3 separate regions of the Homo sapiens genome follow, and regions 2 and 3 are each linked to region 1. Evidence: promoter capture Hi-C in human tissues and cell types (Jung and others, 2019). All regions are on one chromosome and are shown on one strand. The core of a region is centred on a gene start or on the middle of the fragment in contact, and the rest is flanking DNA. Distances in the headings are between cores, read along the strand shown. Region 1 holds the start of ALS2CL (ALS2 C-terminal like). Region 2 overlaps LRRC2 (leucine rich repeat containing 2). Region 3 has its middle 6.4 kb from the start of RTP3.

What was found. Contacts are between HindIII fragments. The study calls those that stand out against the background at their distance.
Region 2: a fragment that was not itself captured here is called in contact with the fragment with the promoter of ALS2CL in region 1 in 2 of the 25 tissues and cell types used here (liver and spleen).
Region 3: a contact is called between a fragment that was not itself captured here and the fragment with the promoter of ALS2CL in region 1, in 2 of the 25 tissues and cell types used here (mesendoderm cells and spleen).

What each region holds. Positions count from the first base shown.
Region 1 is chr3:46,692,312-46,695,011 of GRCh38, reverse strand. ALS2CL (ALS2 C-terminal like) reads left to right here and starts at 1,333. Exons shown (of 26, transcript NM_147129.5): 1 at 1,333-1,369. It also overlaps a transcript of TMIE not described here. RefSeq lists enhancers at 1-396, 1,978-2,700 and silencers at 1,029-1,108, 1,259-1,508, 1,239-1,533. The HindIII fragment of the contact is 18,920 bases long and covers 1-2,700 here.
Region 2 is chr3:46,560,150-46,563,061 of GRCh38, reverse strand. All of the region lies in intron 1 of LRRC2 (leucine rich repeat containing 2), which reads left to right. Among named protein-coding and RNA genes, the nearest start is that of LRRC2-AS1, 4.2 kb to the right of the region's middle. RefSeq lists an enhancer at 1-145. The HindIII fragment of the contact is 5,010 bases long and covers 1-2,912 here.
Region 3 is chr3:46,503,001-46,505,700 of GRCh38, reverse strand. No RefSeq gene overlaps it. Among named protein-coding and RNA genes, the nearest start is that of RTP3, 6.4 kb to the right of the region's middle. The HindIII fragment of the contact is 6,994 bases long and covers 1-2,700 here.

The DNA.
Region 1 (2,700 bases), core at 84-2,583:
GGTAGCCCCCACCCACCAACACAGCAACACCTCTAGCAGGCAGGGACCAGAGGAGCAAGGCCTTTGGGAGTGGAGCCCCTCAGGCAGCAGGGGGTGCAGAAGGGGGCAAGAAAACAAGGCTGGAAAAGGGGAGGCCAGAGCTAGGGCGGGCTTTGGCAATGTGGGGAGGGATGGAGAAGCAGGAAGGGGCGGCTCTGCAGGATTGGGACCCAGGAGGAGAGCAATGTGGGGCAAAAGGGTGAGGTCACTGGGACCTGCAGTCACTCAGACAAGGGTCCCAGGCTGGAAACCCTCCAAGGGGTGATGTGCAGCTTGGCAGACAGTAAACTCCCACCTCGCAACAACCCAAGGGAGCCAGGGGATGAGCTTGGCAGGCCCCAGGCCCCTACTTACCTCCACTGGGGGTCTCTTCAGCCTGGCAGGTTGGGGGATGCCTCCCACCTCCTCAGTAGGGGGCTGAGTAGGGGGCTGGTGGGCCACCCTTTCTGCTCTTCCACGGCCGCCTTGGACCCTGAGCCTCCCCCTCACTGGAACCTGAGTGCCACTGAGAGCAATGGGTGACTAACCTGGTGGCCAGAGGGGGAATCAGGCTGCTGACGGGGGGCTTCTTTGTTACAGGTTTGAACTAAGTTCCCTCCCGCTCCCGGGGGGTCTGTCCCAGATAAGTCTTCAGCCACCCTTTCCAAGGTCTCAGGCCTTCGCACAAAGCACACGCGGCCGGCTTCATGCTCTACTAGGCCTGTTGAGACTCAGGAGTGGGGAGGAAAGGGGACTTCCCCAAGGTCGCACAGGAGGGGCGGCCGGCCGTGGACACCCAGCCCAGGGGGCCGCAGGGCGCCTCAGTATACCCCTCTACAGGCTCCAAGTTCCACGAACCCACACAGCGCTCCGCGTGTGCTGGCTTCTGTGACTCAGGGCAGACCCGGGAGGTCACGGGGCTGCACCACAGGCTCGCAGAGCGACTGACTGGCGGGGCGAGGTGGTGGCACGGCGGCCTCGGAGCCTTGCAGGGGAAGCGGGGCGCGAGAGGCGAGCCTGAGTGTGCGCGTGGGTGCGTAGGGGGCGGAGGGGTCAAGACTCCCACTTTTCCTCCCCGCGCCGGGTCCCAGGGGCCTCCGGATCCCGGGGGACGCCAGAGGGAGGCCTCAGGAGAGGCTTGGGGCGGCGGGACGGATCAATACCGCGCGCCAGCTCCTCGGTGGCCCGCCCGTGGCCCCCGCAACTCCAGAGCAACACCCGGAGGCGGGGCGGGGCGGGGCTGGGCGAAGGGGGCGGGGCTGGCAGGGGGCGGGACTGGCAGGGGGCAGGGTGGGGGTGCGAGCGAGGAGCCGCACAGGCAGTCCCGGCGCGGGGCAACCACAGCGCTCAGGTAAGGGCGCGACGAAGGGCGCGCGTCTGCGGACGGGTGTCTGCGCTCCACGCTTAGCTCGTCCAGGTGGGGGCTCCCGCCTCCTCGGCTGCTGCGGTCCCCGCCCAGCTCCTTGGTCCCGGCGGCAGTCATCCCCCGGCCGTCCGAGTCCCTCGTAAGATACCCCGCTCACAGCGTCGTCCTCCCTGCCTGGCTGCTAGCCTGCTTGGGTTCGGGGCAGCGCCCCGGGCCTGACCTGAGCCGTGGTGGCAGGGCCACGGGGCCCCAGCCAGCAGGAGAGACTGCCAGGAGGAGGTGACGCCGGCTGGTTAGGGCGGAAGGGCCCGACCCGGGATTCCAGGAGGTGGCCTTTTCGCATGGGAGCGGCATGGCAAATGCCTGGCGGCCGGAACAGGAGCTCGGGTCTGGGAAACTCCAGCGACTGAGTGTGTGCCTGGGCAGGGAGAGGAAGGGAAGCTGGGACATATGCGACAGCAGGGAGGGGTGCTTGTCTAGGACAAGAGGCTTGTAGCCATGGTGGGGCCGAGGAAGGGTGCAGCGGGGAGAGGCGAGCATGAGACTGAGGGATCAGGTGTGACAGTTCAGCGCCCCCTCCCTGGGGCAGTGCGTGTCTCTACTCTCCCCCACTGGGCACCAGACAACGAAGGGGCTGCCACGGCAGCCCATGAAAAAGCCTCCACAGCAGGCAGAACTTCCCTGCCTGTTCAGACCAGGAAATACCAGAGTGAGTGAGTGTCACGACAAGGTGTGTCAGGGGCCTAAGGAGCCAGGCCTGGGAGAGGACAGGGAAGGCCCCAGTGACCCTGCCCGGGAGGGACCTAGCGTGGACAGAGGCCAGGAATGCAGAGGAGAGACCAGGTCTGGCTACTGGTTAGAGCGCCACAGGGGCAGCCGCTGACTCACCTGGGCACGCCGTGACTGGCCAGTTCTGTCCTCACCCTGCCCCACCCCACCGCACCCCGTGGTGAGCATCAGGGCTGCCTGAGGACAGCTGTGAGGCAGGGCCCGTCAGGATCTTGCTCTGTGCCTCAGGTGAGTTGCCCACCCTCTCTGAGCCATCTAGCTAGGTGAACCTGGTGGGCTGGAGCCAGAAGTCTGGGTCTGAGCCCTGCACAAGTTCTACACAAGGGTCTCTGGACCCTCCCATTGTTCCTGGGCCTCAGTTTCCCCATCTGTACATTAGGCACAGCCTGTCACTAAGGAACCTTTGAACTGGAGGGAGGGAGAGGGTGAGGAAGCTATGCCCTTGACTGGAAGGGGGAAGGTTAGGGATGGGACAGGGGTTGGGGAGGGGGGTACTCCTGCAGGATCCTCCTCATATTAAGGTTCAG
Region 2 (2,912 bases), core at 281-2,780, 130 kb after region 1:
GCAGAGTGAGGAAACGAAGCAAAAGAAGTGACTTCTGGCCGAGTACAGTGGCTCATACCTGTAATCTCAGCACTTTGGGATGCCGAGGCGGGCAGATCACCTGAGGTCAGGAGTTTGAGACTAGCCTGGTCAACATGGTGAAACCCTATCTCTACTAAAAATACAAAAATTAGCCGGATATGGTGGCTTTTGCCTGTAATCCCAGCTACTCAGGAGGCTGAGGAAGAATTGCTTGAACCCAGGAAGTGAAGTTTGCAGTGAGCTGAGATTGTGCCACTGCACTCCAGCCTGGGTGACAGAGTGAGACTTCATCTCAAAAAAAAAAAAAAAGAAGTAACTTCTAGATCTTCTAGATTATGATGGAGTCATTCCTGAGGTGTGGAATTAAAGGAGGCCTAGGATGGACAAACTCTAAAGGAGCAAGTTTGGAGAACATCATGTTTCTTTGAGATATGTGTGAGACATCCAAGTGCATATTCAAGGAGGCAGCTGAACATGCACACCAGATGGCACCAGAAGTTAAGACTGATTTTTAAAGTGTCTTTTATAAAAATCCACTGTCTTGGTTATTTATTGCTGCATAACAGTTTATTCTAGACTGTTAGTTTAGAATAACACACATTTATTATCTCACAGTTTCTGAGAGTCAGAAATCCAGGGCAGTTTAGCTGAGTGTTTCTGGCTTAGGGTCTCATGAAGTTGTGGTCAAGATGTCCACAGGGGCTGCCGTCATCTGAAGGCTTGACTGGGGATGGAGGATCTGCTTTTAAGACAGCCCCCTCTCATGGCTGTTGACAGGAGGCCTCAGTTCCTCTCCTTGTGAAGCTTTTCCACAAGGCTGCTTGAGCATCATCATGACATGGCAGCTGACTTCCTAGAGTGAGTGATCTGACAGAGAGTGAAGACCTAGTCTCAGAAGCCACACACCATTACTTTCACCACATTCTAGTCATTAGAAGTGAGTCACTAAGTCTAGCCCATGCTCAAGGGGGGAGGAATTAAGTTCTACCTTTTTAAAGGGAAGAATGTGAAAGACTTTGTGGATATAGTTTAAAACCATCACATCCACCAAAGCAAAATATTTTACATTTTATTGTCCACTAAAGCTAGGATCAGTAAACTATAACCTGCAGGCCTGGCACCTGTTTACATATGGAATGTGGGCACTGCTGGAGCATCTGGGGACCAAGCTGGGGTATTTTCTTCTGTTTCTACTCCCCCACTGCTCTCAGCTCCTGTCCACCTGGCCAGCTGTACCTTGCTGCAGTCCAGGGCCCACCCTGGTTGCCATCTACACATTGGAGACTCTATTGTTAGCAACCAAGCAATGGAATCTCAGTTCAGGAGCTGGTGACTGAGTAGGTCACCTTGCTTCCAGCCAGCTATCCAACTTGTGATGACGGGAGGAGAGAAGGACACACAGGCACCTGTCTGGGTGATACTGGGGCAGAGAAAGAAATGGACTGCAGCAGGCTCACTCCCCGGCCCCTTCCCCTGCCAACCTCTCCCCTCTCTTTTTGTTTTTTTGAGACCCAGGCTGGAGTGCACTGATGCAATCTCAGCTCACTGCAACATCTGCCTCCCAGGCCCAAGTGATCCTCTCACATCAACCTCCTTAGTAGCTGGGACCACAGATGCATGCCACCACCCAGCTATTTTATTTATTCATTTTATTTTTTATTTTTGGTAAAGACAGGGTTTTGCCATGTTGCCCAGGCTGCTCTCAAACTCCTGAGCTTAAGCAATCCACCCACCTCAGCCTCCCAAAGTGCTGTGATTACAGGTGGGAGCCACTGCACCCAGCCACCCTGCCCCTTTTTCACCATACCTACTAGCCCTTTCCCTCTTGGGCTAGTCCCTCTTGTTCTGAGAATGTTTTTGGCAAGCAGCAGCTGGACATGAAACATGCTAACTACTCCGGATGGTTCTCTGGGGGCAAGCAGGGAGAGGCTCGCCAGAGGGTTCTCCTTTGTTATGTAAACGCCTACATATATCTTCAATTTTGCTTATTGGCCTGGGAAACCTCTATTATTTACCATCAAGTTTTCTCAGCCCTGTACTAAAACAAAAGATTTTCCAGGCATTATTTTCCTTAATCTAACCTTTGAGAGTGTGCTGATGGTTAACATTTTCACTCAGGAGCTGGAACACTAAGTGTCTGGGAGTCCTTGGACTGGAGAGGAACATGGCTGATGACACTTTGTGGCCCCAGTGTTCTTTCCTTTACAGTGAGAGATGCCACCGTTCTCCTTCTGTCTCATCATTGCAGGTGTTTTCTTCTCTGGAAGATGCTCTGTGACTGTGGACAGTGTAGCCCAAATTGAGGGAGGCTTGTTCTCATAATTCTGCTACAACCACACAAAACCAGACCCACAGCAGGGAACCGGAATCAGATGCTGTCTTGGAACCATGACACTTTGCTGTCAAATTCAACGAGGGTCCAGGCTGAAGCTTTACACTTAGGCTGCTTTGTAGAATCTACTTCGTTGTAAAGTTTCCTATAAGAGGATATTGCTTTGTTTGTATTGAGGGTCTCTTGACTGGATCCCGTAGAGGTTAATTTTTCCCTTTTCTGTGTTGGGGTAGCATATGATGATGATGACATTTCTATAGTCCTAAAGAAAGTTAATGCTTAGGACATTGCATTCTATGTCTTTGCCTGAAAGATTGTGTTGACTAGAGTTTATTTTACAAAGAAGAGATTAGCTTTGTAAATTTGTGAGGAGATCTCTCCCCTGAGCTGCTGAGGGACTGGCACCTGTGTCTGTCCCTGACAACTGTGTCCTATGGGCTCCCCAGTGTGGTTTCTCCCCTGGATGGAGGGTCTCCTCCTTACCCTGGACTGACACATGGACTCTCATTTGAACTACTTTCTCAGTCTCAGAACCCACCCATGAACTACTACCTTCTAG
Region 3 (2,700 bases), core at 186-2,685, 190 kb after region 1:
TGGTTCACTAGGAAGCCAGTCAGCACTAGAACTGGGTGGAATAGAACAGGGGCTACGTAGAAGGACAACCAGCACTAGTGGAATGAAACCCTCACCAGAGGGATGACAGGAGGCACCGCAGGGATACTGTCACTTCAGTAGGGAATTAAAAGATGGACATGGTCTCATGAGTAGCTAAGAAGAGGCAGAGGGAATTTGTGAGCAAAAGCCTAGGAGTGGGAAAGATAAATTAGCCAAGGCATGGTTGTAGGTGTGGTTTGAGGGGACAGGTGGGAGATGTGAACTGCCAGAATGACATTCCAGAAGGACAATGTGAGGATGCAATGTGCCCTAGAGGGAGCACTAGGATGCAGGCAAGGCACAACTCCAGTCGATGGAGGGGGGCAGATGGGGAGAGGATGGGGATGGGGTGAGTGAAAAGAAGTTATTGGCTGTAAGTGACTATTACACTAATTTCCATTGCATAAATGGAAGGATTCACATTTCTAGTTTTTTTAAAAAAAGGTGTGAGAAGGAGTCTTAAAATTAATGTCATTAATCAAGACAGAGCATGTTCAAAAGACTGCTTTGGTTTCAGAGTCCTGGTGATATGGTTTGAAAGTGTCCCCACCCAAATTTCGTCTTGAATTGTATTTCTCATAATCCCCACGAGTCATGGGAGGGGCCCACTGGGAGGTAATTGAATCATGGGGGCGGTTACCCTCATGCTATTCTTGTGATAGTTAGTGGGTTCTCACGAGATCTGATGGTTTTATAAGGGACTTTCCCCGCTTTGCTTGGCACTCATTCTCTCTTTTGCCACTCTGTGAAGAGGTGCCTTCTGCCATGATTGTGTTCCTGAGGCCTCTCCAGCCATGTGGAACTGTGAGTCAATTAAACCTCTTTTCTTTATAAATTACCCAGTCTTGGGTATTTCTTCATAGCAGCGTGAGAATGGACTAATACACCTGGTAAGAATCTGTCCACAGACTTCCACATTTGCTCCTTTAGAATGGGAGTCCTCAGTATTTCTTTTTTATTATTTTTATTATTTTTGTGATCATCCAGCCCAAAATGTCAGTCTCAATGTTTTTGTTGTTGTTGTTGTTGTTATTGTTGTTTGTCTTTTTTGTTTTGTTTTATTTTGAGACGGAGTCTCTCTCTGTCGCCCAGGCTGGAGTGCAGTGGCGTGATCTCGGCTCACCAAAAGCTCCACCTCCCAGGTTCACACCGTTCTCCTGCCTCAGCCTCCCGTGTAGCTGGGACTACAGGTGCCCGCCATCATGCCTGGCTAATTTTTTTTTTTTGTATTTTTAGTAGAGACGGGGTTTCACTGTGTTAGCCAGGATGGTCTCGATCTCCCGACCTCGTGATCCTCCCGCCTCGGCCTCCCAAAATGCTGGGATTACAGGCATGAGCCACCAAGCCTGGCCTCAGTCCCAGTGTTTTTGATTGGACAATGGGGTTAAAAAAAATTGAGCATGCATTCCAAATGTGTGTGTATTTGTTATTCATGCATCCTCTGCATACTTATGCATACCATTATTCTAATATATTTGCATACATTATAAAAACATACCATAAGAAATAATAAACTTTAAAGAAAAACTAAACAGGATATCTCTCCCTCCTCAGTGGTGCATCCTGCCTTACCCCTCAGTCACAGGTGGCCCCAGGGAGACCACTCCCTGAGAACCCATGTTTTCAGCCTAACTGGCTCCTTCCTCAGCAGACTCACACTGTGGCAGTCTCCCCTCATCTCCACCAGTTTTGTTTCTCAATATTACTTTGCTCATCTCAAAGGTTACCTAGATTTAAGGGCCCTCTTAAATTCTCCCTTTTGACTATTTCTTTTCTTTCAGCCTCTCTCTCTGTGCTCCTCCCACTGACTCTCAACTTCAGGGAAAGGGGGAGGGTGCAGGGGAGAAAATCTGGAATAGAAGTCCTAGAAGCTTCTGGCCTTGGGCTCTGAGCAGCTGTGGACAATGCCCCAGCCACTGTGGGTATTCCGAGGATGAAGAGCAGCTGTTTATGTGGAAGGGTGCTAGGAACGTGCTATATTTTGAATATTTGACCTTTTAAACTTCATGATGAAATTGGACCCCCAGTGTTAGAGGTGGGGCCTAATGGGAAATGTTTGGATTATGGGGACGAATCCTTCATGAATGGCTTGGTGCCATCCTTGGTGTAATGAGTGAGTTCTAGCTCTTAGTTCCTGCCAGAGTCAGTTGTTAGAACCCGGCACCACCCCGCACCTCTCTTGCTTCCTCTTTCCCCATGTGATCCCTACTTGTGCTGGCTCTCCTTCACCTGTCATGAGCAGACACAGCCTGAGGCCCTCACTCGAAGCAGATGCTAGTGCCATGCTACTTGTACACTCTGCAGAACTGTGAATGAAACAAGCCTCTTTTCTTTGTAAATTACCCAGACTCAGCTATTCCTTTACAGCAACGTAAACAGACTTAGACAGTATGCCTGTGCAGGGAAGGGCCCATAAGCCAATGCTGGTCTCTCATCTGCTTAAGCTTGACAAACATAATTCCAGGATCTATTTGGAACACCCTCTACTGTCACCCAGGCCTACCCACTCTGGAAACAGATATTTATCAACATAAATACCAGCTTGCATTACCATCCCTTATCTGGCAAAGCCAGGGCAGGCTTGGTACTCTCTTCCCTTCCCCTAGGGGGTGGCTTTGTCATGACCCTCCATACACTCAC